Linked DNA regions of Homo sapiens: all the other regions are linked to region 5. Evidence: promoter capture Hi-C in 16 types of primary human blood cells and fetal thymus (Javierre and others, 2016). All regions are on one chromosome and are shown on one strand. Each heading gives the region's core, a stretch centred on a gene start or on the middle of the fragment in contact. The rest is flanking DNA. Distances are from core to core; before and after follow the strand shown. Region 1 overlaps ZPBP (zona pellucida binding protein). Region 2 overlaps SPMIP7 (sperm microtubule inner protein 7). Region 3 overlaps FIGNL1 (fidgetin like 1). Region 4 overlaps DDC (dopa decarboxylase). Region 5 holds the start of IKZF1 (IKAROS family zinc finger 1). Region 6 overlaps SPMIP7 (sperm microtubule inner protein 7). Region 7 overlaps SPMIP7 (sperm microtubule inner protein 7).

Region 1 (4,071 bases), core at 456-2,955, 220 kb before region 5:
TTAAACTACAGTCCAAAAAGCTTCTCTGTTCTTCAAACTTTAAGACATTAGACCTCTTCCAGTCCTTTCTGAAATAAAAAGTATAGTGTTCTTAATAAGTTTTACAACTGGTAGAGAGTGACCTATGATAAAATACTGTATTGAAAACCATAATATAATCATAAAGTTAAAATACCAGAATTCCCTGAGAACAGTTTTTATAAAGATAAAAACCAATGTAGTAACAGGATTATATCTTTACCTGGAAATAACTACATTTATCAATACCTACTTTTCTATTATAAGAGTGAGTAAAATAAATATTGCTCCTACTTAAAGGATAAATTGAATTTCATACTATATTTTGCAATATAAACTGCAAGACCTGGCGTTGCACCTCGGAGAAGAAAAAATTTCAAATTTCAATTTCCAAATCAAACGAGCAAAAAATGACAATAAAAAATTCAATGCTTAAATGTTTCTATATTTCAACTTGCAGAGTTTCAATATAAAATGTAAAACATATTTAAAACACATGTTTCTATTACATTATGTGCTACTATTAGAGAGTGATAAAAATAAAATTTGATTGTATTTCCACTACTGGGTGCTTTTACGCCTGGATCACTTCTCTGATTATATAAGCTGCAAAACTTATTAGAATTTCTGTTGTTGAGCCCTGCTGATCCCATGAACAAATTGCACAATCGTTCCTACTTTGCTAGTGTAGTGAGGCAGAGGTTATGTCTGATCTTTCTATCCCCCATAAAACCTAGCACAGCGGCTTCCACCAAGTAGTCATTCACTAAATGAATGATGAATAATTTGTCCTAAGAAAAACACAGACTGACCCAAAGAGGAGATTAATTCTTTAAAATTACCTATTTTTGTATCAACATAAATACCACAGAAACATACAGCTGAGATCTCTTAGCTATATAAATATGAATTAAAACATATTAAAAATTAGTATTTCCTATGTTTCTTTAGCAAGTCTTTGTATAAATATATTGCTCTCCTTCATCCAAGAAAATAAAATAAGCCTGTAAGTTTCTATCCACAGGCACGATCTCAAAATAGCAATAAGATTTTTAAAAAGAAAGGAAAGAAAACATGGTAAATAGAGCAATAAAGGAAAACTTTCTCTGAGGGTATGCAAAAATGACTGAACAGATCTTCAAAATGAAAATTCATTAATCTATATTTTTTGCAAGGCAAGAAACAAAGCCAGCTAAGTTAACTGTAGTTTTTTAAAACTACAGTGTTAAAAATCAGCTTTTATCCAATCAAAAAATTAGAATAAAAGTAAAAAGTAAAATCTGTATTTCAGGATTAAAAAACAAGAAGTTGACTAGAGGAAATACTGATCAAATCAGTCATACAAACAGTATTTTTTAAGTGAGAAAAAGTAACTTTGGGGGATTATAGATGCTTTGAGAACCCCCCAAACAGTTCATTCTTAGAGTATGTCCCTGTATCAAAATAAAATATGTAAAAATGGGAACACTATCTACATTGTTAGCTCTAACTCCAAAAGGAAATCACAAGAAAAAGAATTGAGGAAATAACATAAATATGTATGAGATACAAACATTCTTTTTGTGTTGCACACAATTCAGATACATTTATTTAATTACAATAATTGAAACAAAATCCTACCTGAAACAACTTTTCCTTTAGGCCCATACCATTGGAATGATGGGTCTATCAGTTCAGCATTTCGCAGTTGTTGCGTTACACATAACACGTGTGGACTCTTTTGATGGAGCATGACATACGCTTTCACTGAAAATACAATATTTAAAATGTTCCAATAGTATTTTATCTTCTTTTCTTTCTCTATAATGTACACTTTTGTAGTTTGGGTTACATGCAATAATAAGAGTACTTTGAATTATTGCTCCTATTACTTGATAAAAACTAAATTTCATTGCATTCTATGCAATTAACATTAAAAATATATTATGTATTTGTATGTATATATGTGTATGCATGTATGTGTGTGTACATGTATCCCCAACCTTAGCATAATGTGTTAGTACTTTTCATTCAGAGCTCATATACACTAACCTGTTTTATTCTCAGAATATTATTTCAATAACAAAGTATTAAGATAATACTATATCTACACTTTATCTGTTTTGTAAAGACACCAAACATGATTAGAGCTTAAAAATTGTTTAGATTAGCAGAATAATGCATTATTCACAATGATGTAGCATGATGTACTGAATAAAAATGATAAAGTGATTAAAAAGTTAGCAAATTTATGCTTTTATTGATTTTAAATATTAAAGCATTTTGTTCCATTTGCTTTGAAATTTAAATCCTGATAAGTAAGCAAAAATAGTATCCTTTAGGAGATACAAAAGGAACCCGGTAAAGATTCCATTATTTTAAGTTTACTCATAAGTAAACTTTTAGGAAAGGTTGCAACAACCCTTTAGACTCTGCATGCCAACTCTTCACTGATACACTGTATACAAAGATTTCTGTGATCGAGTAAAATAAAGAGAATCAAAATTCTCTTTGACTTTTAAGAGACTTCCTCTAAAGTTTTACCATAAAGCATGATGTTTATTGAATGTACTTTTAGGTACATACCCTTCCACAGGTTAAGAAAGATCCCCTCTGTTCTTGGTTATTTGTTTTTATCATAAACATAAATCAGCACTGAATTTTAAGAAATGTTTGTTCTATATTGATTGAGGTGATTTTTTTCTTTTTGAGTACTTTAATGAAATGCTTGCATTAATAGATTGCCTAACTTCTTTAATAAATGCTTACCCCATAAATTTTCACTCCTCAGCATGATTTACTGGCCCTACTCTCCATGATCTTTTGCATATATCTCACTATACCTCTTTTCACACCCTCTGCCCTAACCACGCCACAGCAGCACACAGCATCATTCTTTTGTGATTTTATTGATATAAATTCCTCCTCATCTTTGGAGACTCAGCATAAGTATATCCTTTGTGCTTTGGCTTGACAGTACCTCATACCATGACTGTACCCTTCCTCTCGCCCCCACTAACCCCTGTACCTATTTCACAGCAAATATAAATGAATCCAGAAGAGTTTCCCAATGCAAGATCAACATACAAAAACAAATAATATTCCTCTACATCAACAATAATGCATTAAACCATTTTATAGGAAGGAAGATAATATTTAGAGTACAATAAACAAAAGTCACTCTATAATCAAGTAAGACCTCTGTGGGAAACATCTTCAGGCTCTAACAAAAGACATAAAATTAGACCAAAATGCCATAATCATGACTGCATACACATAACTTTAAAGATGTCAATTTATTCCCAAATTTATTTATCAACACATAAGCAAAATCCCAGAAGAAATTATTTAAGAAGCTCTTCAATACTGATTCTAAAATCCATTTGGAAGATTAAAGCTTCATAAATATCTGAAAGAATTCTATAACAGAAAAGCAAAGAGGAGGGACTAGCAATAAGAGTTACTGAGATATATTAACATTTACACTAAATAAAAAAAGAGAGGCCTGGTGTAGGAACAAATAATGGGTCTAGGGAAAAAATCAAATTGGCATAAATAACTGATATATATGTGGTAGACAAGGTACCTAAAATCACTGGAGAAAATATAGATTATCAATAAATTATAGTTAAAAGTTATCTCAAAATACATGCAAATGTAAACTTAGATTTATACCTCTTACCGTATATAAAAATAAATTCCAGGTACACTGAATAACTGAAGGCAAGTAATTATTTAAAGAAAATAATACCTTTATGTCTGAACCAGTTATAGAAAATTATCTCAATGCAAAAAGCACAAATATAAAAATACTGAACTCAACTTCTTAAATGGTAACACTTTCTGTTTGATCCTGTATAACATAGGCAAAGTTAACAAATTTGACTGTAGGGAGAGGATATTTGCAACAAAGTTAATAATGCATTTATAACTGGAATATAAACAATATGAAAAAGAACTCCTTTGAAAACAACAAAGAAAAGAATGGGTAGAGGCAACTTAATCTTCAGCTTACCAAAAATGGAAAAAGTTGGGTAAAATTTTGTGCTGATAAGGATGTGGGAAAATGGGACC
Region 2 (4,217 bases), core at 1,690-4,189, 210 kb before region 5:
TATAAGAAACAAAGGAATGATAAACCTTATAAACTTATTTGTAAAAGAAAATTTATTCTTTAAGAAAAGAACATTCATTAGTGATTAACACAAAGTATATAACATTATTTATTCTAGATATATGGATAAGCTTGTTTTACCACAGGGGAATTTATGTATCACTTTGATAATTGTATAGAAATCCTCCTTATCTGTCTCTCTCCTTTGAAAGAATGAATTCACTGATATTATGAAAGAGTTAGTTTTAAGGATTGAAATAAAATGGGAAAAATTTAAGTACTTGAACGTACATTTTTTGGCTCCAATAAGAACAGAAGCTGAAATGAAGCAAACTCTGCATAAATAGCTCCACAGCCATGGAGGCAGGTTTGATGACCTCTTACTGACATCTGCACCATGTGGTTTCTCTGTAAGAACTCCTGTAAATGGAGTTCCTCTAAATGATGAGAAACACCTCCAAAGGAAAGCCACAGGTACTATTTTCTGTATAAAAGCTGTCTGGCAGGCAGGAATGTAAAAAGATCAACATTTTTAGCATCGGAAAAGGAAAGGGCCAAATGCTATAGGAAGAATACTTTTAAACATTATTCTAAGAAATTATAGGTTGAAGAAATGGCTTAGCAAAGCTAACATAGGGCTAAAATGGTGTTAACAGACTTTGTACCACCAAGTCAGAACCAAGTATAGAGCTCATCTGTCCCATGTATTTCACTGCCTGAATCAGTGAAACAGAGGAGTTTAGAGAACAGGCTTTAGACTCAGACTGTCTGGCCTTGAGCTCTGGCAAAAACTCAGTTGCTGTACGACCCAGGGCTAGTTACTATTCTCTTTATGCCTGTGTATCCTTACTTGTAAAACTCACCTAAGAGTAAAACTTCATAAGATAATAAGTAAGGGTCATTTTATGTTAAAAAAAAAAAAAAACTCACCTAAGAGTGAAACTTCGTAAGATAATAAGTAAGGGCCATTTTATGTAAAAATACCTAAAATAAAGAATAAATGTCAGATTGTAAGAAGTCCAAAATTTTCAGTTTCTTCATACATAAATTAGGAATAATCTTACTTCTTTTATACATTTGTAAGAATCAAATGAATTAACACTTGTAAAGTGCTTAGCAGAATCCCTGAAACCTGATAAAACATTTCATTAATAGTAGCTCTTATTATTAACTATTAAGAGTTTCAAAAAGTAATACCTGCAATTTGGGGACAGAGTTCAATATAATTTGTCCTAGGCTTTCAATGACTTTGTACATCCTGGAAACAATTAATTGTAAATGATAAGTACTTTCAGGATGTAACAAACCTAAATACACGTTATTTCTAATACATTCTCATAAAGACGGTCATTTCAGAATTAATTACATACACACTGGTATGCTCTTCAGTGGACTTTCACAAATATCAAAGAAAAATCATAAAATATTATATTGCTGATTTCTACTTGCCCCATTCCAAACCTGTGTAGACCTTTTACTGAGTTTAGTACTTCCTTTCTTGATCCAGTTGTCTCTCTTTATCATCTACCAATTAACAATTCTAAACTTATTCTAATTACATTCAGATCCTTTATAGTACTCTGCCTCTCATTGCAGTAGATGATCCAGTCTTTGTTATCACAGAAGAGATAGACCTCATCTATTGTCACTTCCTTGATTGTCCTCCACTTTGGCCTCCTGATATCAATATTGATACCACTTTGTATGTCTTTCTATCTTTTTTTAAACCATTGTATTAAGTCACTTTGCATGACAAAATACTAAAGGCTGGGTGGCTGAAACAACAGATAATTGTTTCTCATAGTTCTAGAGGCTGGGAAGCCAAGAATCATGGAATTGGTATATTTGATTGCTGGTAAAGACCTTCTTTCTAGTTTATAGAAGGCATCTTTTTCCTTGCATCCTCAGAGAGAGAGAGAGAGAGCTCTAGTCTCCCTTCCTCTACTTAACACTAATGCCATCATGGAGGTCTTACCTTATTTGCCTCATCTAAAGCTAATTACCTCCCGAAGTCTTCACCTCCAAATAACATCACATTGGGAGTTAGGCTTCAACACACGAATCTGGGGGGATACAGACATTCACCACAACCATCTTTATAGTTAATTAACATTAAGTAGTATATTCATACTGTGCAAATATCACCACCATCCATCTCTGGGATTCACTTCATCTTGCAAAACTGAAACTCTTTACCCATTAAACAACCCCCTATTTCCCTCCCTGCCAGGGGTTATGAACTCCTGGCAACAACCGTTATATCTTCTGTTATCTATGATTTTGACTACTTTAGGTTCCTCACTTAAGCGAAATCACATATTATTTGTCTTTTGTGATTGGCTTATTTCACTTACCGTAATGTCCTTCAGGTTCACTCCTGTTGTAGTATATGTCCAAAACTTCTGTGTGTATTAGGTCTATTTGGTCTATGTGTTATTCAAGTCCTCTATGTCCTTATCGATCTCCTGTCTGGATGTCCTATTCATCATTAAAAGTGCGGTACTAAAATATCCTACTATTATTGTATTGTTGTCTATCTCTTCCTGCATTTATGATTCTCTTGACCTTGGTGAGCATTTTCGTGACGGTTTTCTGTGGGGTATGTTATTTAACTCTATTTTATTAGGATTGGTTTCTGAAAATGTATCTTATTCCTTTGTTTGGAGGATCTTTGCCTGATTCTTCATTTTCCTTGACTCTCTGTGTAGGTGTTTCCACATTAGGCAAAGCAGGCACTTCTTTCATTCTTCATGACCTGGTCTTGTAAAGAAGAAGACCTTCACCCTTCAGCCTGGCCAGAGATTTGGGAACCTCTGCCAACTGTTTTCCTTCCCAAGTGAATCTGAGAGATGGGATTTTTGTTCACTTGCTCTGTGCTGAGGAGAGGGTGAGCTATGGTGTCTACTAGCCCAAACTCCCATTTCCATTATCCCATAGGCAACTAGACTGTGCCAGATTCATCAGAGTTTCATGACTGATAAGACAGATGCTGTTTTTGGAGCAGCCCCAGAGAAGCTGGGGTCCTGGATCAACTCTTGGATCTATGGCGACTATCTCTAGATCTAGATCTGTGGCATCTACAAGCCCAGGCTACCTTCTCCATCTTCCCCCAGGGGGTTAAACTATGTTGGATTCATCAGAGTTCCAGAACTGGTGAGATAAATCATAGTTCTTTAGGCAACTACCGAGAAGTTGGGGTGCTGGACACGAATGAATCAACTTTTTCTAGGGGGCTGAGAGAGAAGATTATTTAAAATCTGCTTACTCTGTGCTGAGCATATGGGAGAGTCTGTGCTATCCACCAGTCCAGAATGCAATCTCTGTTCACTCTTGGATCATTAGATTGTACCAGACCCCTCAGGGCTCCCAGACTGGCAAGACAGAAGCCAGTCCTCTGGGGAGCTCCCTTGGAAAAGTTGGGGTGCTAAACATGGGAACCAACTGAGGGGAGAACAACCTGAATGAATCTGGGAGCTAGGAAATCTCTTCCTGATTGTCTGGTACTGCACCAGGGGCAGGGAATCTGCAAGAGGGTGACTAACTCAAATCTCCATATCAGCTTCAGTGCGTCTGTTTTGCATTCTGTCAAGGTGCAGGAGCCTTTCACTCAGTTTCTGTATTTCTCACAAAGGTAACTTGTTCATGAATTGTTGCTGAATCAGTTTATTAATTGGGGAGAGGAAGTTCAGAGTTTCCTACTCTGCCATCTTGCTAAGGTCATTCCCCATAAATTTTGTTGTTTAAATTTTCATTTTTCAGTCAGGCACGGTGGCTCACGCCTGTAATCCCAGCACTTTGGGAAGCCAAGGCAGGTGGATCATGAGGTCAGGAGATCGAGACCATTCAGGCTAATATAGTGAAACCCCGTCTCTACTAAAAATACAAAAAATTAGCCAGGCGTGGTGGTGAGCACCAGTAGTCCCAGCTACTCGGGAGGCTGAGGCAGGAGAATGGCGTGAACCTGGTAGGCAGAGCTTGCAGTGAGCCGAGATCGTGCCACTGCACTCCAGCCTTGGCGACAGAGTGAGATGCCGTCCAAAAATAAATAAATAAATAAATAAATAAATAAATATGAAAATAAAATAAAATCGTTTTTCTCAAGATAATTTCCCATTTCCTTTATGATTTCTTATCTGATCCTTTGTTTTGTGGCATCATGTTTAATTTCTATATATCTGTTTATTTTCCAGTGTCCCTTCTTTTGTTGATTTTTAGTTT
Region 3 (3,781 bases), core at 987-3,486, 140 kb after region 5:
GGCTAGCATTCATGTTTCTGAAACAATAGCTAAAGACAGGGCAGTGCCACACTTGAGATAATTTAATCCAAGATTATTATATTCGATGAAGACAATCGCATGTGGCGAGAGTAAGCAATCTTAAAGTTTCAGTAAGCTTCCTATCCAACTGCTTCAGAAACACTCAAAATCACAAAGTGTTGAGACAAAGAAAGCTTCTCTGTGGTATAACGTAGAAACAACAGTTGACTCCCCAGCTCAAATTTTCTTTCCAGCTTTAAAATATCCTGACTATTCCTTTCAGGTTTAGATTCTTATTTAACAGAGTAGACCTTAATTCAGGAAAGACCATTTCTTGAGCTAACAAGAGAGACATGGGCTCTGCTTAATCCAAGATGAGCTAAACCAACTAGACTTTCTCTCCTTGTCACAATTTCTAAACTCCATAGAAAGAAGTGGCCCTGTGGCTGGTGATCAAGGGAGCTTAAAGTCAGGGCTGGCAGAAGCTGTAACTGAAAAAAACTGATAATAAATATTAAGACCAAATTTCAGAGCTAAATAAAACATTAACAGCTAGAGGGCAAATGCTGATAAATCTAAATAGCTAGACCCAAGAAGGTGGGAGTGATCTGCAATTAAACACCAAGAAAGAAAAACTAGAGAATTCCTTGACATCAATACCAAAGAAACCAAGTTTATAGTGCTGTTTATATAGAAATAGAAAGGGATAAAGACAGTAATGAATATTGTGGAATGTTTTAGGATGTTAAAAGATATAACTAAGAACTGAAGACAAGAAGTTTAACGTCCAAATTCTAATAAAAAAGGCCAGGCGTGGTGGCTCATGCCTGTAATCCCAACACTTCAGGAGGCTGAGGTGGGTGGATCGTTTGAGGCCAGGAGTTCGAGAGCAGCCTGGGCAACATGGTGAAACCCCATCTCGATTAAAAATACAAAAATTAGCTGGGTGTGGTGGTGCAAACCTGTGGTCTCAGCTACAAGGGAGACTGAGGCACAAGAATCACTGGAACCCAGGAGGCAGAGGTTGCAGTGAGCTGAGATCACACCACTGCACTCCAGCCTAGGCAACACAGCGAGACTGTTTCAAAATAACCAAAACAAAACAAAAAATGAATTCTAATGAAAGACAATCACATATTACAAAGGGAAAAACTAAAAATTGCAACAATCTTTTAACATAAAAACAGAAGGCAAACCAAGAATAAAAATTTAAACTATATACACAAACTGTCTAAATTCAACAACTAAAAGTGTTTCAATTTGTCATTTCAAATTGCACTGTTCACAAGAGAAAACATTAGAACTTAAATATAACCTCCACGAGACCAAGGATATTTGTGTTGTTCATTGCTCTACGTTCACTACCTTCAGTTTTTTGAATAAATGCAAAAAGAATGCCAACAAATACCAAAACTGCCTACTGCCCAATGCTGCCATAGCTCTGATTCAGTGCAGATGGAGTTTTACACAGGAACTACTTTTTCAAGAGGACAATTTAGAATGCAAGCCAAAAGCTTTAAAAAGTGCATATTCTTTAATCCAGGAATTACTCAAGAAATTTATACATTTTTTAAAAAGATCACCAAATGCATCCCACATAGTTCCTTTACAATAAACAAAAGATAAACAACCTAGCGTCCTGTCCTATATGCGCTCTACCAGATGACTCAATTATATTCCATCCATCCATGGAATCCTAGACAATCATAAAAGGACATTTATGTTAACATGGAAAGTGAAGATACGCTTTGAAGAATAGGCTACAAGAGAGAATACATTACACAATCCTACTGCTGTATAAAACAAAACATCTGGAAGAATCTATGCTTAAATATTAATAGTGTGTCCCGCAAAGTGGTAGGATAATAGTGACTTTTATTCTTTTTACTTATCTCTATTTTCTCATGTTTCTGTAATGAACATGTTTCATAAAACAAAATGGGTCTGTTATAAAAATCTGAAAACTTGTTTTTGAAAGAGAGCAGTATTACAGGCTGTAGTGTCAAATAAAATATTAATGTTAAATATCACACGCTCCCGTGAAAATAACCAACATTCTTAATTAACCTTTCAGTTCTGTGAATCTAATACTAGATCACACCTTGCTATTTCTGAAAATGTTAGTCCTGATAAAAATTAAAAACCATAAAAGAGGTAACAAATTGGCTGAAGAAAGTAAAAATTGGCACTTTAGCTTTGAGATCTTAAATCTACTTAAATAACACTAAGCAATACTTTGTCCAAATGTAAACCATTATACTAGCTGACATTAAGAATTATGTGGCCATCAGAAGGCACTTTCTTCAATAAAAGATGAATATTAATCAGACACAACTTTATATGTAATCTTCAACTAAAAAAAATTTGAGCTCACTTTTCATGTTATATAGCTTCAAGATAAAGACTTCTTAGAAACAAAAGTTCATTCTCACTTTGTTCAAATAGGCTTACGTATCAGGTAATCACTGGAAAGCAAAACTTACATTAACATACACTATGTCAATCAGATGTAAAATCTGTGCTATTATTTGAAGTACAGAACTTAGAATATATTCTTAAAAATACAATTAACACATCCCCAACTTTCTATGCTAAAAAATAAAGAAGACTGTACTACAGAGATGCCTTGATTCCAAGTATCCCACTTACTTTCCACAACCAAAAGTTTTGTTCCAGTTTTCATAAAGCTCTAAATCTTTTGGAGAAACACTAGGTCGCACAGTTCTAAAAGCATTTTCAAAATCAATGTAAGCTATGGGTCGAACTTGATCCGGTGTTATGGTAGCAATGTCAGCAGTTTGTAAACTGCGAATAGGACCAAGAGAAGCCTCCCTGCAAAGCTGTGTCATGTCTGCTCCTGAAAACGCATCAGACTGCTGTACAATCTGTTCAATTTCTTCTTCACTGAGGCAACACTGCTCTTTGGACATTAGATTAATTACTATCTGTTTCCTGGCTGAAGCTTCTGGGAGGGGAATATAAAGCCTTTTCACCAATCTTCTCCGGGCAGCCTCATCAATTTCTTGTGGCCGATTTGTTGCTCCCACCACTAGGATACGATCTTCAGAAGATGTTGTTGCTCCATCTAATTGAACTAAAAATTCTGTTTTTATCCTTCTAGAAGATTCATGCTCACCATCTCCCCGTTGAGATAACAAGGAATCAATTTCGTCAATAAATATCACAGCTGGTTGCTGACACCTTGCAACAGCAAACAATGCACGGACCATTTTCTCCCCCTCACCTACCCATTTAGAAGTTAAGGATGAAGCAGAGATGCTAAAGAATGTTGCCCCAGACTGACTAGCAATGCACTTGCCAATTAGAGTTTTACCAGTCCCAGGAGGACCAAAGAGCAAAATTCCTTTAGGGGGTCCCCTTAAACCAGTAAAGATGTCTGGCCTCAACATGGGCCACACAACTATTTCCTTTATGGTGGCTTTAGCAAATTCTACTCCTGCAATATCTTCCCAATTTACTGGAGGTCCATGATCCATAATCTCATTCATAATAAGTTCAATCATCTTTGGCTCCAAGTTCTTCAGACGCTCATCAACTGGATGTGCTGGTTCTGTAGGTCCTGCCCCATAAGGCTTACATTGCATTCCTCCATTCTGCTCTCCCCCATCTTGCTTGGGTATAGGAGGAACAAACTTTCCAAGTATCCCTCGGGATCTACTAGCTCCTAGAGACTTTTTTACACCACCATATGAAGACCCTGATGCACGCTGAGGTTGGTGGTACTTTTTTTGCTGATCTACCCATAATTGTTCTTTTGCAG
Region 4 (4,151 bases), core at 1,426-3,925, 160 kb after region 5:
GCTTGAGGAAGCGGGAACAGCCGCTGTGCGTGGAAACAAGGCTGTGTAGCATGGGGCAGGGCAGGCCGGTGGGCCAAAGAATGCAGGCTTTGCTCTGCCATCTCTGGAGAGCCAGTGCCAGTGTTTGAGCATGGAGGTAATGAACAACACTTTCCCCTCTGTCACATTCACAGAAAATGAAGAATGGAATAGATGTAGACAAACCTTTAGCCGAAAGCAGACAAGCCCCAGAATGACTTCCACACAGATTTCAAAGCGGGGATCCTGGCGCACCAGTGACTCAAACTCATGGGACAGCTGGACATGCTTCAAAGAGGAAAGGGAAAATCTGTTTTTCTCATGGCCATTTAATTCAGAACTTAACTACCTAGAAAACCTTATTAGACTGCCCATGTATAATTCATTTAGACGCTCTTGGCAATTTTCCTCAAGTGCTTTTACCGTTCACTGACCAGCTGTTTCCAGGCAGGCTAAGAAACTCATTCCCTACATTAGCACAGGTCTAGTGTCCTCAGAACACCAATTGTCATTTTCTTCTGTTCATGGGACTATTCTTATCCCACCCAAACTGTCTTTTATAATGTTAGAATAAACACCGTGAGGAGGTATTTGATCATTCTGGAAGAGACAATGGCTAATGCCCATCGAGTTGCTCCTCTGTGCTTGAGGTGCCAGCGCTCACCACTGCGGCATCCTCAGGACAGCCCACAACACAGAAGATATCATGATTATCCCCATTTTGGAGATAAGAAAACAGGCTGGGAGAGGGTGAGCGACATGCCCAAGGTGCACCCGGAGGCCTTGGCTGAGCTAGGATTCTAAGGCAGCCTGATGGAGCTGCAGCTCTGTGGCTGCCACAGCTGTTGCTCCTCCTCCGCGTTTGCCACCTAGAGCTGGGCATCCTGTCCGCTCTGTCACATTCAGAAACGGCCTTCCTCTCATTGAATATCACACTGACCTTATTTCACTTCCAAATAGTTATAGAACTCAGAAGCTATTCAGACAGCATGTGATCCTAGGAGAAGGAGCCCTCCGTGGCGTAGGCCCGTGCCTTGCTCATTCTAAGCCCGCGGATACAGCAGGGCCCCCATGTTGCAGGTGCTGGGGAGGACCTGCGGAAACGCGGCGCCTCGCGGGCAGGGGGTGGCTGGGACAAAAACACGTGTCATACGAGTGGTTCCTCGTCATGCCACCAGAGAGCGCCAAAGACCTCGGCCTCATGGGCGATCCCGAAAGCCGGTTCCCGCCCAAGGAGACAGGCTTTGAGCATCGCTGGACTCTGCTCCTAAGGCAGGATTGGGTCCCCTTTAAGAAAGAAGTGGAGTGTGTTTTAAACAGGAGCCAGCATGATCATAACTAGTTGTCCTTGAGCTTAAAGACGTCATCATTGTGGGGAGATAAATCCCTTATTTTTTGGCTTTCTTTCCCCAAAAAAGCTGAATTCGTCTCAAATGGGTAGAGGGGGATTTCCTACCCAGGAATTCATATACATACTCCTTTCCCAGTTCTCGCCCCCAAACAGGTCCTCATAGTGCTCGGCAGCTCCTGGAACTGTCCTCACCGAAGCTTTGGGAGTAGGCAGTTCATGGCACATCCTAGGCATTCTATGAAGCTTGCAGATGGATGTGTTTATATATGCTGTGCCACAGAGGAGGTGGCTGGGGACACCTGCCCCTGCACACCTGGTTGTGAAGTGGCAACAGGACTTAAAATGGAGGGCTGTTACCATCACTAAGGCTGAATATCATAAGTGTGCTTGTTCCCATGAAGCCTGGGGACCTCTGTCCATCAAGATGAGGCCACAGCTTAGGAAGGACACCAGGATCAGAGAGAGCCAGCAGAACAGCAGCAGGCCTTCTGCAGCTGGCTAAACGGGTGGCTCTAGGCAGATCCAGGCTCATATTCAGGACTCAGTTTCCTCATTTTTTTTTTTTTTTTTTTTTTTGGTGAGACGGAGTCTTGCTTTGTCACTCAGGCTTTAGTGCAGTGGCACAATCTCTGCTCATTGCAACCTCTGCCTCCCAGGTTCAAGTGATTCTTCTGCCTCAGCCTCCCGAGTAGCTGGGATTACAGGTGCCTGCCACCATGCCTGGCTAATTTTTTGTATTTTTTTTTTAGTAGAGACAAGGTTTCACTATGTTGGCCAGGCTGGTCTAGAACTCCTGACTTCATGATCTGCCCACCTCGGCCTCCCAAAGTGCCGGGATTACATGCGTGAGCCACCACACCCAGCCAATTGTTATTTTAAAAAAAAAAAAAAAAAAAAAAGCAGGGGAGTGGGGCTTGGAGCTGATAAGTGGTTCTCAAATTTTAGTGCATAGAGAAGGTGTCTGGTTTGCTTGTTAAAACAGAGGTTGCTGGGCCCCACTGCAGGCCGGCACTGCTGGTCTGGAAGCATGTCTGAGAACCACTGGACTAGGGAATATCTATCTTATTCTGGCAATTTTGGGGGAGAAAAACACAGTCCTTATGTTCTCATAATTGCCATTGCTCAATGAACTTCATTCTTGGCTAGATGTGGCTAAAGCACAACCTATGTGATGTTTCTACTGTGACCATCTTCCTGGACCTGATAACCTGCAATCTTAACGAAAGTGACTTAACAGATCTTATAAATAACCTCATCTCAACAACCCAAACTACAGTCTGGTTCTCTTGCCATGTATTTGCTTATTAAGACATTTGAAGGCCAGGTGCAGTGGCTCACACCTGTAATCCCAGCACTTTGAGAGGCTGAGGTGGGTGGATCACCTGAAGCCAGGAGTTCAAGATCAGCCTGACCAACATGGTGAAACCCAATCTCTACTTAAAATACAAAAATTAGCTGGGCATGATGGCGCATGCCTGTAATCCTAGCTACTCAGGAGGCTAAGGCAGGAGATTCGCTTGAACCCAGGAGGCAGAGGTTGCAGTGAGCTGAGATTGTGCCATTGCACTCCAGCCTGGGGGACAAGAGTGAAACTCTGTCTCAAAAAAAAAAAAAGAAAAAAAATTTGAATTTATTTCTAAAGTCCCGAAAGACCTCCGCAATTTTACCGTGATAAATAATAAAAACAAAGTCACCTTGCGGATATAAGCCTGCAGTCCTTTGACTCCATACATCCTAAATACAAACCACATTTTCAAAGAGCGAAATCTTCTGCCCAGTGGTATCTGCCAATGCTGAAATGAAACATGAAACAGACCATCAGTGAGGAAGATATTAAAAGCTGGCTTCCTTTTCGGCTCACCGGCTCGCCTATTTCTCTTGGAGGCAGCCGATTCCCTGGTGGCCAACCTGCTCCCATTGCCATGGCCTGTCTTGGATGGCAGGGCCCTCGGTGATGTGGGCAGAGGCTTTCTTTGCAAATCTCCAAGAGAAAGGAACACAGATGGGGACTGTTGACCTGGGAGCCAGTGATGTTCATTGTTTTCACTCAACAGGTGTTTGCGGCATGCACAGCAGGGCCAGACCTTGGGCTGTCCCCTAGGGTTCCGTGGTGAGCAAACAGGGAAGACACGGCCCTGCCCCCAGTGAGCTCACCATCCAGTGGGGATAAGGGGGTAATTTTCATTGATGTCCTTGCCTACGAGGAAGGAGGGAGCCAGAACCTGCTCTTGTCTGCCACTTCTGCCCCAGATGTTCTGGCACTGTTTTCTAGAGCAATACTGGTTCCCTCTTGGTCCTACTGATCACCATGGAGTGACCCCAAGACCCCTCATCAGAAGACACAATGTGTGTCTCCATGCTGGTGCTCCAGAAGCTTTCCCTGTCCTTCCTCTGGTTTTCCCAGACCCAGTCAGTTGACCGGCCCCCACACACTGAGGGATGGAGATGTGGTGAAGTGAGTAAGGAAGGACTGGGACGAGGAGACTGCTGGGAAGTGAGCATAGCAGCACTGTGTGGTCATCTTAACAGTCATATTCTATTTCAGCTATAAAGGAGACACTGAGGAGAGCTGAGCCAGCTCCCTACTGGGCCTGGGTGACACAGTGCAGCCAGGCGCGACACTCTAGCGCAGCTGGGCCATCTGCCGGGTGGGACTGCTTAGCCGGAGTCCTGAGTCCCGCACTGCTCCCCAGTAGGAGGGCTTGCAGGTGTTTTTTAAAGTGTGGGTGAAGGCCGGATGCGGTGGCTCACGCCTGTAACCCCAGCACTTTGGGAGGCCAAG
Region 5 (4,152 bases), core at 1,363-3,862:
TCCATATGTGATCTCCTTAACCCACAAACAACCCCACCAGGAGGGTTATATTATCACCACCAATTTACAGATGGGGAAATTCAGGCTTTGAGAGATTAAGGACCTCAGTCAGATTCATAAGCCCAAACTATCTGGGCTCTTAGCCCCACATGCTCCTGCCTCAGTGGGCTACACCTTGGTGAGATGCCTATGTTTCGGTCCACTGGTCCACTCCTGAAGACCAAGGCACAGGTTTAGAGAGACGTACCAGCGGCTAAAGGTACTTCTGCATCCAAGAACTAGAGGTGTCCCGTGTCCCCTTTACAACATTGTTGGCCTCCCTCTGGGCCTTGTACCTTATGTTTATTGCCTCATTTAATCCAGGTAAGGAGTCTTTAGGATTGGTGGCATGTATTCTTTTTATAGACAAGGAAGATGATGCTCAGGAGTTTGGATAACCTGCCCAAGGTCACGCAGTGGAGGAGAGGACTAGAAGGTAAATCAATGGACCTTTCACTACCTTCCCCTTCTCTGGGCTGTAGCAGTGAGTTAACTGGCTCAGACTTGCCCAGCGGAATGCCCTTCAGGACACACTGAGTACTGTAGTAAGAGCTGCATATGCGCTCAGGGAGAATGTGGATAGACGCTGTTTGTGATTCACGGGTAAAGGGCCTTCTCCCAGAGGCAGCAGAGGCAGATCCTGTCTCTGGTGTGCCCTGGCCCCCGACTTGGAGGCCTCCTGGGCCAGGCCAAGACCTTCCCCGGCAGCGATGGTCTCCAGCCACACTCAACTGCCCTGAAGGGACATTTCCTGCTTATTCCCTTGCCCGGCTGTGTCCTCCACCCGGAAGGCCTGTGCCTTCTTCGCCTGCATGTCCTACCCTGAGGAGGCTCCCTTGGTCTTTCATCGCTCTCCCTATGGGTCTTCACGCCTTCCCGAACCACCGCGCCCAAGCAGGAGCACGTTCTCGGCCCTCTTCACAGGGCGCTCCTCCTCACAGGGGTGCCCGGGATTTTTATTCTGTGCCTTCCTGGTGGCTCCTACAAGTCTGGAAGGGCAGGAGGCGCATCTCACTCCTCTGGGTCCCCTCCCCTAGCGCCTGGCGGGAGCCCAGGCTGCATTTGTGGAATTCATGACTTTTTCTCTCCTGCTCAAGCTGAACACATTGCTGGCTCCTGCTCGGGTGGAGCCCGGCTAATTAGAGTGAGGGGCTCCCCGTAGGGCGAAGGGGTGCGCTGTCAGATGTGGCATTCCCGTTTTACGGAGACACACGGTGTCTTACACGCCAGGGAGAGGTCTGAGACGCAAAGAGCCGTCGAGCGGGCTGCGGGATTGCTTCGCTGTCACCTCCGCCTGCAGCCACCCTTCCGCACGCACTTGTGTGTGCACCCAGGCCAACATGGAAGGCGCCATCCTAACTTCTGCCGTGAGCAGGTGGGAGGGAAGAGAGACGAGAGGTATTCCATTGGTTGTCTGGGAAAATGAATTGCACCTTCCCCTCCCTTGCGGAGGATCAACTTTTCCCACCCCCTCGGGTGGGCACTCGCATCCTGGGGCCGGAGCCTGAACCCGGGAGCCAAGGGGCCCCAGTTCCAGGGACGTGAAGCTGAGCGTACAGCGGGCGCTCCCAGACACTGGGGAAAGTGCTTTACGATGTCCCGAGTCCCTCCAGTCTCGCCAGCGGGGCGAGCGTGAGGGTGCCCCGACCGACCAGCGGCCCCGGGTGCAGGGTGGCGGGCCCGGCGGCGCGCGTCCCCCTCCCCCTCCTGGCGGCCCGCACGTGTCGCCCGCGCCGCGCCCCCACGGGTTACGCGCGGGTCCCGCAGCGCCGCGGCCGAGCCGGGCTGCCCGGCCCGCGGACACAGCGCCGGCCGCCGCATCCCGTGCGGGGCCGCGGCGCGATGCTGCGCTGGAATGAGGAAGCGCGGCGGCGAGGGGAGGGCCCGGGCGCGGTGCGCGCGGGGGTGGCGGCGGCGCGCCGAGCGGGCCCGGCGCGGGCGAGCGGGCTGCAGCCGGCGGCGGCGCCAGCAGGTACGGCCCGCACCCGCCGCCGCCCCGGCGGCCTTTGGGGGCTGAGCCGGAGCCCGGCGCGATTGCAAAGTTTTCGTGCGCGGCCCCTCTGGCCCGGAGTTGCGGCTGAGACGCGCGCCGCGCGAGCCGGGGGACTCGGCGACGGGGCGGGGACGGGACGACGCACCCTCTCCGTGTCCCGCTCTGCGCCCTTCTGCGCGCCCCGCTCCCTGTACCGGAGCAGCGATCCGGGAGGCGGCCGAGAGGTGCGCGCGGGGCCGAGCCGGCTGCGGGGCAGGTCGAGCAGGGACCGCCAGCGTGCGTCACCCCAAAGTTTGCGGGGTGGCAGGGCGCGCGCTCTGGCCACCCGCCGCTCTGGGCGGCAGCTGGTGGCAACGCAAGGGCGCGGCGGGGGCGGCCGGCGCGGAGGGGGCCAGGTACGGGGCCCGCGGGCGGCGCTGTGCGCGCGGGGCAGCCGGTCGGCCGGGAGCGCGAAAGCCTGGTCTGAGCCGGCTGGGGGCGGGGAGTGTGGCGGAGAAATGGGGAACAATGCGAGTGAGCAACTTCAGGAAGTCATTGTGAAAGAAAGCTGGGAAGAGCTCCGCGGCCAAGTTAGCAGGACACTCTAACAAGTGACTGCGCGGCCCGCGCCCGGGGCGGTGACTGCGGCAAGCCCCCTGGGTCCCCGCGCGGCGCATCCCAGCCTGGGCGGGACGCTCGGCCGCGGCGAGGCGGGCAAGCCTGGCAGGGCAGAGGGAGCCCCGGCTCCGAGGTTGCTCTTCGCACCCGAGGATCAGTCTTGGCCCCAAAGCGCGACGCACAAATCCACGTGAGTGTTTTCAAATTGAATTTCAATAGGAAAACTTGGGGTAACTGGTGAATTTAAAAAAAAAAAAACACAGTAAAGAAAAGCGGTAAGGTTGGTAGACCCTGGTGTCGCTCAGGTCCGCCTCTCTTTTCTGAGGACAGTGAGAGAGTTCACTTCTGTCAAGCGTCTGTTGCTCTGCACTGTGCCAGCAGGTGCAGGACCAGGCCGACATGGGACACTTCTGAGCAGCCCCGCTGTCACCAGGAGAGGAGTTCTAGCTCCCAACCATATTTAAATTTATGTAGACCTACATATACCCACGGAAGTCAGCCTTTATAAAGTCGTGTGTAAAGAGTTTTCCTTATATTTGAGCCGGGAGCTTTCTTTTTATACTATAAATATGATGAGATCGAGTCTGAACTTAATTTCTGCAAGAGAGGAATTATCCCGGCTTTGAAAAGTTAGTCCTTTTGCTGACCGCAGGTTTGACGCTCAAGTCACCAAACCTTCTCAGGAAAACCCTTAGTAATATTAAGGCATCAGGTTACTTGCGGTTATATTTGAAATGTATTTTAAATATTTGTCAAGCATCGCTGCTGATGCCTAAGGAACCTCGTGAGGGCTTGTTTTTCCTTCTAATTTGGAGGCATCTAATGACCGAAAACCGTAGCGATTCCATAGGGTCTGACCAGGCACAGCTTTCAAATGCAGCTTCCCTCTCTCTAGGGACTGCAGCCCACCCAGACTGAATTTCAATGCGGTGCGCTTTGCTTAGGTTACCCACTCACAATTTCCCACTGCGCCGCAGGCAGTATATTTCAGCTTTGAGATACCTTGTTTTAAAATTCCAGACAAAATGGTGTTGAGGAAATGTCTCCTTACTAGTCCCATCAACTTCTGTTAAAAGAGGAAAATTTATGGAATTTGAAAATACTGCGTATGATATTTAAACTTTCATAGACATTCAAATGCTTTTAAGGCCAGGTTCAATTTGGTTATGAGTCGAGGGGTGGGGGGGACCCACATAGAAATGTCCTGGGTCCTCTTGAGTTTATTTCTTTGTTTGAAGATGTTTGTTCAATGAGTTTTATTGTACTCATCTTTTATATGGAATTTTAAAAAGTAACAATTTCAGTATTATTTATATTAGAATGTGTCAGAATTATTTCCGTGACAAATCAGATCATTTGGGCTATGGCTTAAAATGTACACGAGGCAAATATTCATGACAAGAAGATTCACCTTCTTACGCTGGCATCTTGTAAAATGCAGAACAAGTTAAAGAAATAATGTGTACACATACAAATAATGATGTCACATTAAAAATACTACACTATTCTTGCTTGATGGAATG
Region 6 (4,160 bases), core at 1,239-3,738, 190 kb before region 5:
TAATGCAGAATTAGCTGTAATAACATCAGACAAAGTGAATTTCAGAACAAGAAATTTTACTAAGGACTCAGATATTTTACAATAGGAAAGGGATCAATCCATAAAATGTACATAAAATGTATTTAAAATGTATATCACCTAATAACAGAACTCAAAATACATGAAGCACAAACTTATAGGACTGAAAGGCAGATTTACCGTTAGTAGATATCTCAAAACTCTGTCCTCAGTAGTTTATAGGAAAGGTAGACAGAAAAAAAGGGGGATATGGAACATATGAAAACTATTATGAACTAACTTGACCTAATTGATATAAATACCAATGGCACACAGAACATTCACTGAGATAAATTATATTCTGGAATATCAAACACATCAAATGAAATCAAAAAATTGAAATTATAGAAAGATGTTCTCGGATTGCAACAAAATTAAACTAGAACTCAATAATAAAAGATGCCTGGTAAAAAATAAAAACATATGTGCACATTTAGAATATAGTGATATACAAATGGTTAATACATCATTATAAAGTTAGGTTTATTCAGGTATGTAAGTTTTGCTTAACTTTAGAAAATTGATAAATGTGATTCATTGTGTTAACTGATTAAAATACAAGTCATCTACTCATCTCAAGATATGAAAAAAAATTGACAAAAAGGATTGACATTATCCTTAAATTAATAATGGATGTCTGTGAAAAGGTAAATCAAACTTAATATTAAATAGTGAAATGTTGAAAGCATCCCCTGTGTAAGCAATCTCAAGCAAGTATGTCCTCTTTCACGTTCTCTTTTCTCCTCCTCCTTTCACCTAAGCACTGAAGTTCTTAGCCAGCCCAGTTAAGCAAACATAAAAATGGTATACAAATTGGAGGTGACTAAACAACCCTAATATTCTTGTCAATATGATTATGTATGTAAACATCCAAATAAATATGCAATTAAATTACTTTTCATTTTATTTTACCTTATTTTATTTTTAAGACAGAGTCCTGCTTTGTCACCCAGGCTGGAGTGTAGTGGCGTGATCACAGCTCACTGCAGCCTCAACCTCCCAAGCTCAAGCCATCATCCTGCCTCAGCCCCCCAGGTATCTGGGACTACAGGCATGCACCACCATGCCCAGCTAATTTTTGTATTTTTGTGGAGACAGGGTCTCCCCATGTTGCCCAAGCTGGTCTGGAACTCCTGAGCTTAGGCAGTCTGCCACTGACTCCAGCCTATACAGTTAAACTACTATGATAAAAAGAAACTGAATAAGGTTTTTAGAAATGAACATTATTGGAAATGCATTTATTGTATTCTAAATATCAGCAAGAAACAGAAAGTTTTAAAACATTTAACCATTGTATCAAAAACTATTCACTGTTGAGTAATAAATTTATGAAACTGTATTCAAGAATCCTATGGCAAAACTAGTAAATGTATTGAGAGAAAATCTAAAACCTAAATAGACAGGGCAATATGCTATTATCTGGAATGGAAACTTAAAATGTTTAAAAAGTTTAGAGCTTCCTAAGTTGATTTATAGTTTCAGTGCCATCTAAATCAATATTCTAACTATATTTTTGTGGGATTTTGAAAAGTTCTTTAAAAAAATGGATACATAAAAACAAAGAATCAGAAATAACTAAGACTATTCTTAAGTAGAGGGGAAAAATTCAATATCCTTTTATAGCAACTTGCTGGCCTCATAAGGGTCACAATGTTTTAATGGAAAAACTTCTGTTTTCAAGAAAAAAATGTTCACTCGCTAGGATGTAACCTGAGTGTTGAAGCAATTCTCCTCTTGCCTGAGAGAATAAAAACTACTCAAAGCTTTTCCTGACCTACAATTAAAAGAAACAATAAGAGGCGTTCTCAAGCTTGCAGGATAATACAGATTCTGGGTCCCACATTTTCCCTAATGGCCTCACCATTGGGTTAGCTTACTAGAAACTCAGTATCAGAGCCTTTACCTTGAGAAGACAGCCATGAGGAGGCTTTTCTGCAAATGAAAATAGCCTTACAACAGCCTTCAGTTTTATGACTTCCAAATTATGCTAAACCTTTCACGCTGTTCATTCATGAAAATAACATTCAGGCATTAGGAGTACTTACCCAAAAACATGAAGGAAAATAGAGGCCAATCACATATTATAGCCTGTGATTGGACTCAGTAGCTAAGCCATATTTTAATTGTTTAAAAGCGGTAGCAGCAGCAGCCAAATTGGTAGTTTCATCTGAGCCGCTTTTAAGACACGACCTTTATTTGCAAGTCTTGCACACTGCAAAAAAAAATATATTAAATTCCAGACAAACTCTGTATTTGTCAGCAAATAGATTAACACCTTCTGGAATTCTTCTCTTGTCTCCTAATTTCTATCTGAAATGTTGCAACTTACTTAACCCTGCTACTCTACTACCCCTGCCTCATGCAGGTGAAGACCACAATTGTGAGTGTAGTGTTAGAAATAGTGGCTCCTCATGTTCATATGTGAGATAATCCCTTTGATAATCCTGAGTTGATACTTTTTGTTTTTTGGTCTTATTATAAAACTCAGAAGGAAAATACCAGGCAGGGTATGATCTTATCACCTGAAATGAGTTAATACAGAAGAGAACTCTCACCTAATATAAGTCAGTTTCTCCTGAGCTTGTACATATAGCTAAAGACATGTCAGTAAATATTTATACAGATAGTTACATGCTTTTGGAGTAGTCCGTGATTTTGGCGTGTTATAGAAACAAAGAGGGGGACCCCCCATTAAAAACAGTCTCCAAGCAAATGCACTCCTTTCTGCTAGCCTCTTATCATCACGAACTGCCATTATTAAGATTGAAGATCATAGCTGTAAAACTAAACCTGAGTATCAAAGGAATTCCCTGGCAGATTTCTATGCTAAATCAACTAGTGCTGAAACTGTTAGGATACACAATTTGAATAAACTCTGTAAGATTGATCCAAGTCAACTCCCCTATGTTGACCTATTTAACAAACTGTGAAATGTGCCTGATTTGGAAAAACAAAATTGGTATCCGAATGCCTGTAAATTCAGTGTTAAACCTGAACTCAAAGAGCTCTCAGATGGGTGCCTAATACTTCCTTCTGGTACTTCCTGAGTCCTTGAAGCTTCCACTGTTAAAAGTTTTGCACTCCACAAAGCTCTTCACTCTACAACTCATCATGTAACAGACAGCATGATCCAAATTATGAACAAATACTGGTGGGGTAACTGTTATCAAATTGATAAAATGGTTCATAACCAATGTTTGGTTTGTCAAACTCATAATCCTGTGAAAACAATAAAAACTTCAGGTGGTGTATTTTCACTACCGGACTTTATTCAATTGTCATTTTCAGTGGGATATCTGTATATTTACATGTTATCTGGCTGGATAGAAGCTTTCCCATCTGAGAAAGCTGATCTTATGATGGTAGCTAAGAAGTTATTTAAAAAGTATTTCCTTTATGGAGCATCCCTGGAGAAATCTCCAGCAACAGAGGAACCTATTTCACTGGACAATTTAGAAACAGTCGAATAAGCTTATGCACCCAATGGCATCACCATTGTCCCTATTACCCTTAGTCTTCTGGAAAGGTCAAAAGACAAATGGCATTTTACAGCTGAAATTGGCAAAGTTAACTGAATCAATTTGATTGCGCTGGCTTTAATGGTAATCATTACTGAGGTAATATTACCTCGGCTTTAATGGTAATCAAATCCACCCCCAGTGGAAAACATCGATTGACTCCTTATGGAATAGTTCCTGGAAGGCATATGCCCTTAATAATAGAACCTCGTGTATCTTCCATTATCCTAAACTCTGATATGACTAAATACTGCAGGCTTTAATGCATTATGTCATAGTGTATTTTCACCAGGTGAAGGAGATCTTCCATGACCCACAGACTGAGAACAACCAGACCTTTCAAAACCCAGAACCTGGAGATTGGATCTTCTGAAAATGACATCAGAGACCTCATTGAACCCATGGTCCTCTCCCTATTGGAAGAGACCATACCAAGTTCTACTTGCCACCCACGCTGCAGTAAAATATCAAAGGCTTAAACCTTGGGTTCACATGTTAAAGCTCAAAAGGGCCCCTCCAAGCTCCTGGAAATGTATACCTGTTTGAGAATTGAAGGTAAACCTGACCAGGAAAACTTTTCCCCAG
Region 7 (4,194 bases), core at 1,510-4,009, 140 kb before region 5:
GGATGAGGTTGTGTATTTGTACATGTCTTTTATGTCTCATTTTCCTCCTTTTTTTCCCATCCTGCCCCAGCGTCTTCCAGAAAGAAATGGCAGTTGACCTCTTCCGTCACCAGGCTCCCCTGTCTCGACTGGTCACAACTGTGAGACCCTACAACCCTTTCAACAAGAAGGACAAAGAAACCATAGACTACTAGAGGAGGCGGCCCTGCGCGGGCTGTCCAGGCCTCCGCCTGGGGAAGGCTTGTGCGGCGGTGGGAAATAAAGGCTGCTTCTCCGCGCTGCGCAGTGTGGTGGGTTCGGTGCTGTTCTCCGCTGGCCTGCGCGTCCCTGCCCAGCCCGCCTCTCTCCCCCGGCAGGCGGCGCTCAGCTGGACACTGGGCGCCCGCCAGCCGCGGCGCAGACTCCCAAGCCGCCGGCAGCAGGGTAGCAGGGCCTGTGTTGCAGAAGATTCCTCTTTAGGGTTGGAATATTGGGTCTACCTAGAGGTTTCACATGGCACCACTTCAGTGCAGGGATTCTAGAGCAGAGAGCAGACCATAGATTTTAGAATCTCAAAGGCAGTCTAGTCAAAAATCCGTATGCTGTCAGTGGGAACCCTGAGCTACTGAGAAAGTGCGTTCTTCTTTTCTAGCAGGGGACATCACACAAGGGGACAACATCTACCCTCTCTTGGCCTGCTCCAGTGTTTCCTTCAGAGAGAAGTGTTCCCCAGTCCCCATGAGGGTCCTGAAGTCTAAGTCAGGACCACTTTGGGTTAGAGTGTGGCCTGACCCGGCCTTGACCAAAGAGAGCACCAGCTCGCAGAATCTCTCAGGGGTGCATGTGGGCTGAGGGGGAGCCCTCTGGCCTTCGGAATATACACATAAAGTACATTTATATAGTATTTGCATGCACATATACACATACACAGAGCCTATTGGAGTTTACAAAGTGCTTTTGTAAACCTTAGCTCATTTGATCCTGCAACCTTGTAATAAATTCTTATAGCAGGCATTTTACAAATATCTTGCAATTTATGAATTAAATAGACTAAGGCCAGGAGAAGTGAAGTATTTAAGGTCACGCAACTAATAATTAGTAGAGTTATAACTAGAATCCAGGTTTTCTAAATTTAGATATTATACCTCTCCTACCCTTCCATTTTTTCAGCAAATTGGATAACCTTCAATGAATTATAAAAACAAAACAAATAGAAACTGAAAAAAAAAACCCTCCCTGTGTTTCTAGACTTTTCTGAAGTGTCTCAGGGTTTTTATCTGACTTCTAAGAAATTAAGATCAAGATAGTTATACCTCAGAACTCCAAGTAAATGTGTAAATTCTTTTGGGGGTAGTTTGTTCTTGATTTTCCCACAGAAAGGGGGAAGTCAGCTATCTTTGTGATGGAATCATGTATTGCCTCAATGGACAACAACACATGCTTCGATGGTGAGTGTTTTACCAGGATGAAAGAGGAAGGGCAACAGCCATCCATCCTGAGGGCGGACGTGCCTGCGTGCAAAAGGAATGGTTCCCCCTGAACCCAATCTTGTAGTTTCATTATTTTTAGAAAGAGTAAATTGGAAAAAAAATAGACCCAAATAAAAATCTTCAACTCTGGAATGTTCTCAGCAAAACACAAATGGGGCAGTATTAGCCTCCTTCAGGAAGCAGGTTAACGTAGGTACCTGAGATTACATTTTGCAGTAAACATCCCTGGCAGGCCACTTTGCCAGGGGGTGGTGGTGCTCAAAATCTGAGGCACCTCTTCATCATTCTGGGCCTGGATAGGGCTTCAGTAATACTGGATCTTAGCATTTTCCAGGCTAAGATAATTTTTCCATTCTCTACAGTGCAGATACCTAGACACCTGTAAGAGCACTTGAACACCCCAATGCTGCTTCTAGAAGGATGTTGGCTTTGTCTGCGGCATCCCTGGGCCTCATTCAGAAAAAGAGAGATGGTGACTCTTCATTTGCTTGTTCAGACTTATCACTTGTGAAGATAAAAATGCAAATCCTGTTCACCACAGACCTAGAATCCCAAGGTCAGTCACAACAAGGAAGAACATAGAATTACCAGTGTTCCTGACCCTGACCTGTGGGGTGGGTGTAAGTTGTAGTATTTGGGCTTCTGTGGTCAACATTACAACTAAAAGTCACAAAAGCCATGGAAAATAGTCTCAGGGATACACATCTGCTCTTCAGATTCTGAATTCTGGTCTTGCATGATTTCTTTCACCAGGAGCCAGCAGAGCTGTGCTTCCTCGGACTAACAACTTGCCCCTCACTCCCTACCCTCCGGGCACCGTCTCCTCTATAAAGTCACCCTCTCAGCTTTTCTTTATCCCCAGAGATGACACAAATACAGAGAACTGTGGCATTTTTATAGCATTTAGGTGAAAGATGTTATAAATTATACAGTTCACCTGAGAGAAAAAATACATGCTAAACCAGGCAGTGCCTCACACCTGTAATCCCAGCATTTGGGGAGGCCAAAGCGGGAGGATTGCTTCAGCCCAGAGTTCAAGATCAGACTGGGCAACACAGTGAGACCTCTTCTCTACAAAAAAAAAAAAAATCAAAAAATGAAGGAGGATCACTTGAGCTCTGGAGGTTGAGGCTGCAATGAGCCATGATTGCACCATTGCACTCTTGCCTGGGTGACAGAGTGAGACCCTGCCTCAAAAAAAAAATAAATAAATAAATAGAAAGAAAGAAAGAAAATGAAAGAAGAAAATCCATGTGAATAATCTTATTCTAGCAAATAAGGATGTTAGAATGCAGCATATTAAAATATTACAAAAGTACAATACTATGAAAAAATATGGCACTCAACACAGAGCAGAATGGAAACTAGAATTGAACAGAGGAAAGTATTTTGAACTCCTGAGTGCAGGATAGGTTTTTTTCAATAGATGGTATTGGGACAACTATTTGAAACAAAAAAGAAATGTAGATCCACTAAATGAATTGTTCCTGGAATACAGACTTAAATAGATAAGTTACAGATTACTCGGAAATTCAAGAGAATTGGTTTATAAGGTGGAGGGTGTGAAAAAAATTTCCGAAAAGGACACTGAAGGAGATAAAAAGCTACTTTCAGTATAAAAAATACAACCAAAATTTTAAGATAAAACTGCCAGGAAAATATGTCAAAGGATTCATATTCTCATTGTAAAAACAGCCTATGATTTAAAAATGATTATACTAATAAAAACAAGTCAAAGGATGTTAATAAAAAATAAGAAATATGAATGGCCAATACAATTTTTATACCTCAGTAGTATTAGAGAAATGACAGTAGTATTTCACTTTTCACCCACAAACTGGTGCTTATGAGCAGAAATAGATGTCTGTATACCACCGGTAGTTTACATGGGTAATACCTTCCTAGGGGATATTTGGCAAAATGTTTTAAGAGCTTTCGCAAGTGGCTTACATTTCAACTTGGTCATTTCGTTTTTAGGATTTTGTCAAAGCAAATAATCACACAGTAAGCAAATATATATGCATAAAGAATTAAAGGTGCAGCATTTTATTTAACTGAGAGAAAATGAAAACAACTTACTGTCCTGTAGGGTAAACACAACTGATAGCAATAACTTAAGCATACTCTTAGAATGACCCTTATGGCAGATGCACCTGATGTGTGTTCTGAGCTAGGGCATCTGGGAGTGGCTAACACAGAGATTGGTTTCTTATCTATGATAAACATCTGAGCCCCTGTCCCATCCTGTGGAACATGGCCGAACAAGAGATTGAGGCCCTGAGTTTTGGGTTCATGAAGGTTGGAAGGTGGAGTTCACTAGGAGGAGGATGTTAAGTGAAAATGCTATATAAACTGCATGCTGTTTGCAAGCAGTTGCAGTTTTCCTGGCCAGCCTGCTGCCACTGGGTTATGTGGTTATGTTGTCCAGGCTACCACCACCATTTCTGTAATTAAGGCAGTCCTATTATCCAGCCTGCCTGCATTGGACTCTCTCCCCTGTATAGTATGCTCCTAATAAAATCCCATGCTTCATTTGCTGTCTCTGGATCTCTTCTTCGGCCTCTTGAACCTAGTGTCTTCCCTATTGAGATGCAAAGTTCGATACAACATGCCCATCGAAAGAAAATGTGATAGGCCGGGCGCGGTGGCTCACACCTGTAATCCCAGCACTTTGGGAGGCCAAGGTGGGCAGATCACCTGAGGTCAGGAGTTTGAGGCCAGCCTG

Evidence for each region. Contacts are between HindIII fragments. The CHiCAGO score rates a contact against its expected background, and 5 or more counts as called.
Region 1: a fragment that was not itself captured here is called in contact with the fragment with the promoter of IKZF1 in region 5 in 3 of 17 cell types (naive B cells, naive CD8 T cells and total CD4 T cells); the score reaches 6.2 in naive B cells.
Region 2: a contact is called between a fragment that was not itself captured here and the fragment with the promoter of IKZF1 in region 5, in 9 of 17 cell types (naive CD4 T cells, activated CD4 T cells, total CD4 T cells and 6 more). The highest score is 11.5, in naive CD4 T cells.
Region 3: a contact is called between a fragment that was not itself captured here and the fragment with the promoter of IKZF1 in region 5, in 11 of 17 cell types (total B cells, naive B cells, fetal thymus and 8 more). The highest score is 12.4, in total B cells.
Region 4: a fragment that was not itself captured here is called in contact with the fragment with the promoter of IKZF1 in region 5 in 1 of 17 cell types (total B cells); the score reaches 5.2 in total B cells.
Region 6: a contact is called between a fragment that was not itself captured here and the fragment with the promoter of IKZF1 in region 5, in 4 of 17 cell types (naive B cells, activated CD4 T cells, fetal thymus and 1 more). The highest score is 6.9, in naive B cells.
Region 7: a contact is called between a fragment that was not itself captured here and the fragment with the promoter of IKZF1 in region 5, in 11 of 17 cell types (non-activated CD4 T cells, activated CD4 T cells, total CD4 T cells and 8 more). The highest score is 19.3, in non-activated CD4 T cells.

Annotation. Positions count from the first base shown.
Region 1 is chr7:50,080,136-50,084,206 of GRCh38, forward strand. ZPBP (zona pellucida binding protein) reads right to left here. Exons shown (of 8, transcript NM_007009.3): 3 at 1,639-1,764. Among named protein-coding and RNA genes, the nearest start is that of ZPBP, 11 kb to the right of the region's middle. The HindIII fragment of the contact is 3,374 bases long and covers 19-3,392 here.
Region 2 is chr7:50,096,775-50,100,991 of GRCh38, forward strand. The region is part of intron 1 of SPMIP7 (sperm microtubule inner protein 7); the gene reads left to right. Among named protein-coding and RNA genes, the nearest start is that of SPMIP7, 3.0 kb to the left of the region's middle. The HindIII fragment of the contact is 5,623 bases long and covers 129-4,217 here.
Region 3 is chr7:50,442,618-50,446,398 of GRCh38, forward strand. FIGNL1 (fidgetin like 1) reads right to left here. Exons shown (of 4, transcript NM_001287492.4): 4 at 1,516-3,781. The coding sequence ends at 2,646. Among named protein-coding and RNA genes, the nearest start is that of FIGNL1, 5.8 kb to the right of the region's middle. RefSeq lists an enhancer at 3,734-3,781. The HindIII fragment of the contact is 1,448 bases long and covers 1,513-2,960 here.
Region 4 is chr7:50,467,010-50,471,160 of GRCh38, forward strand. DDC (dopa decarboxylase) reads right to left here. Exons shown (of 15, transcript NM_001082971.2): 12 at 3,064-3,162; 13 at 205-306. Among named protein-coding and RNA genes, the nearest start is that of FIGNL1, 19 kb to the left of the region's middle. The HindIII fragment of the contact is 2,131 bases long and covers 1,611-3,741 here.
Region 5 is chr7:50,302,104-50,306,255 of GRCh38, forward strand. It overlaps IKZF1 (IKAROS family zinc finger 1), which reads left to right and starts at 2,613. Exons shown (of 8, transcript NM_006060.6): 1 at 2,613-2,819. RefSeq lists an enhancer at 570-1,071 and a silencer at 1,926-2,725. The HindIII fragment of the contact is 6,071 bases long and covers 1-4,152 here.
Region 6 is chr7:50,115,151-50,119,310 of GRCh38, forward strand. The region is part of intron 2 of SPMIP7 (sperm microtubule inner protein 7); the gene reads left to right. Among named protein-coding and RNA genes, the nearest start is that of SPMIP7, 21 kb to the left of the region's middle. The HindIII fragment of the contact is 1,247 bases long and covers 1,866-3,112 here.
Region 7 is chr7:50,158,976-50,163,169 of GRCh38, forward strand. SPMIP7 (sperm microtubule inner protein 7) reads left to right here. Exons shown (of 9, transcript NM_001161834.3): 9 at 71-281. The coding sequence ends at 194. Among named protein-coding and RNA genes, the nearest start is that of SPMIP7, 65 kb to the left of the region's middle. The HindIII fragment of the contact is 7,687 bases long and covers 1-4,194 here.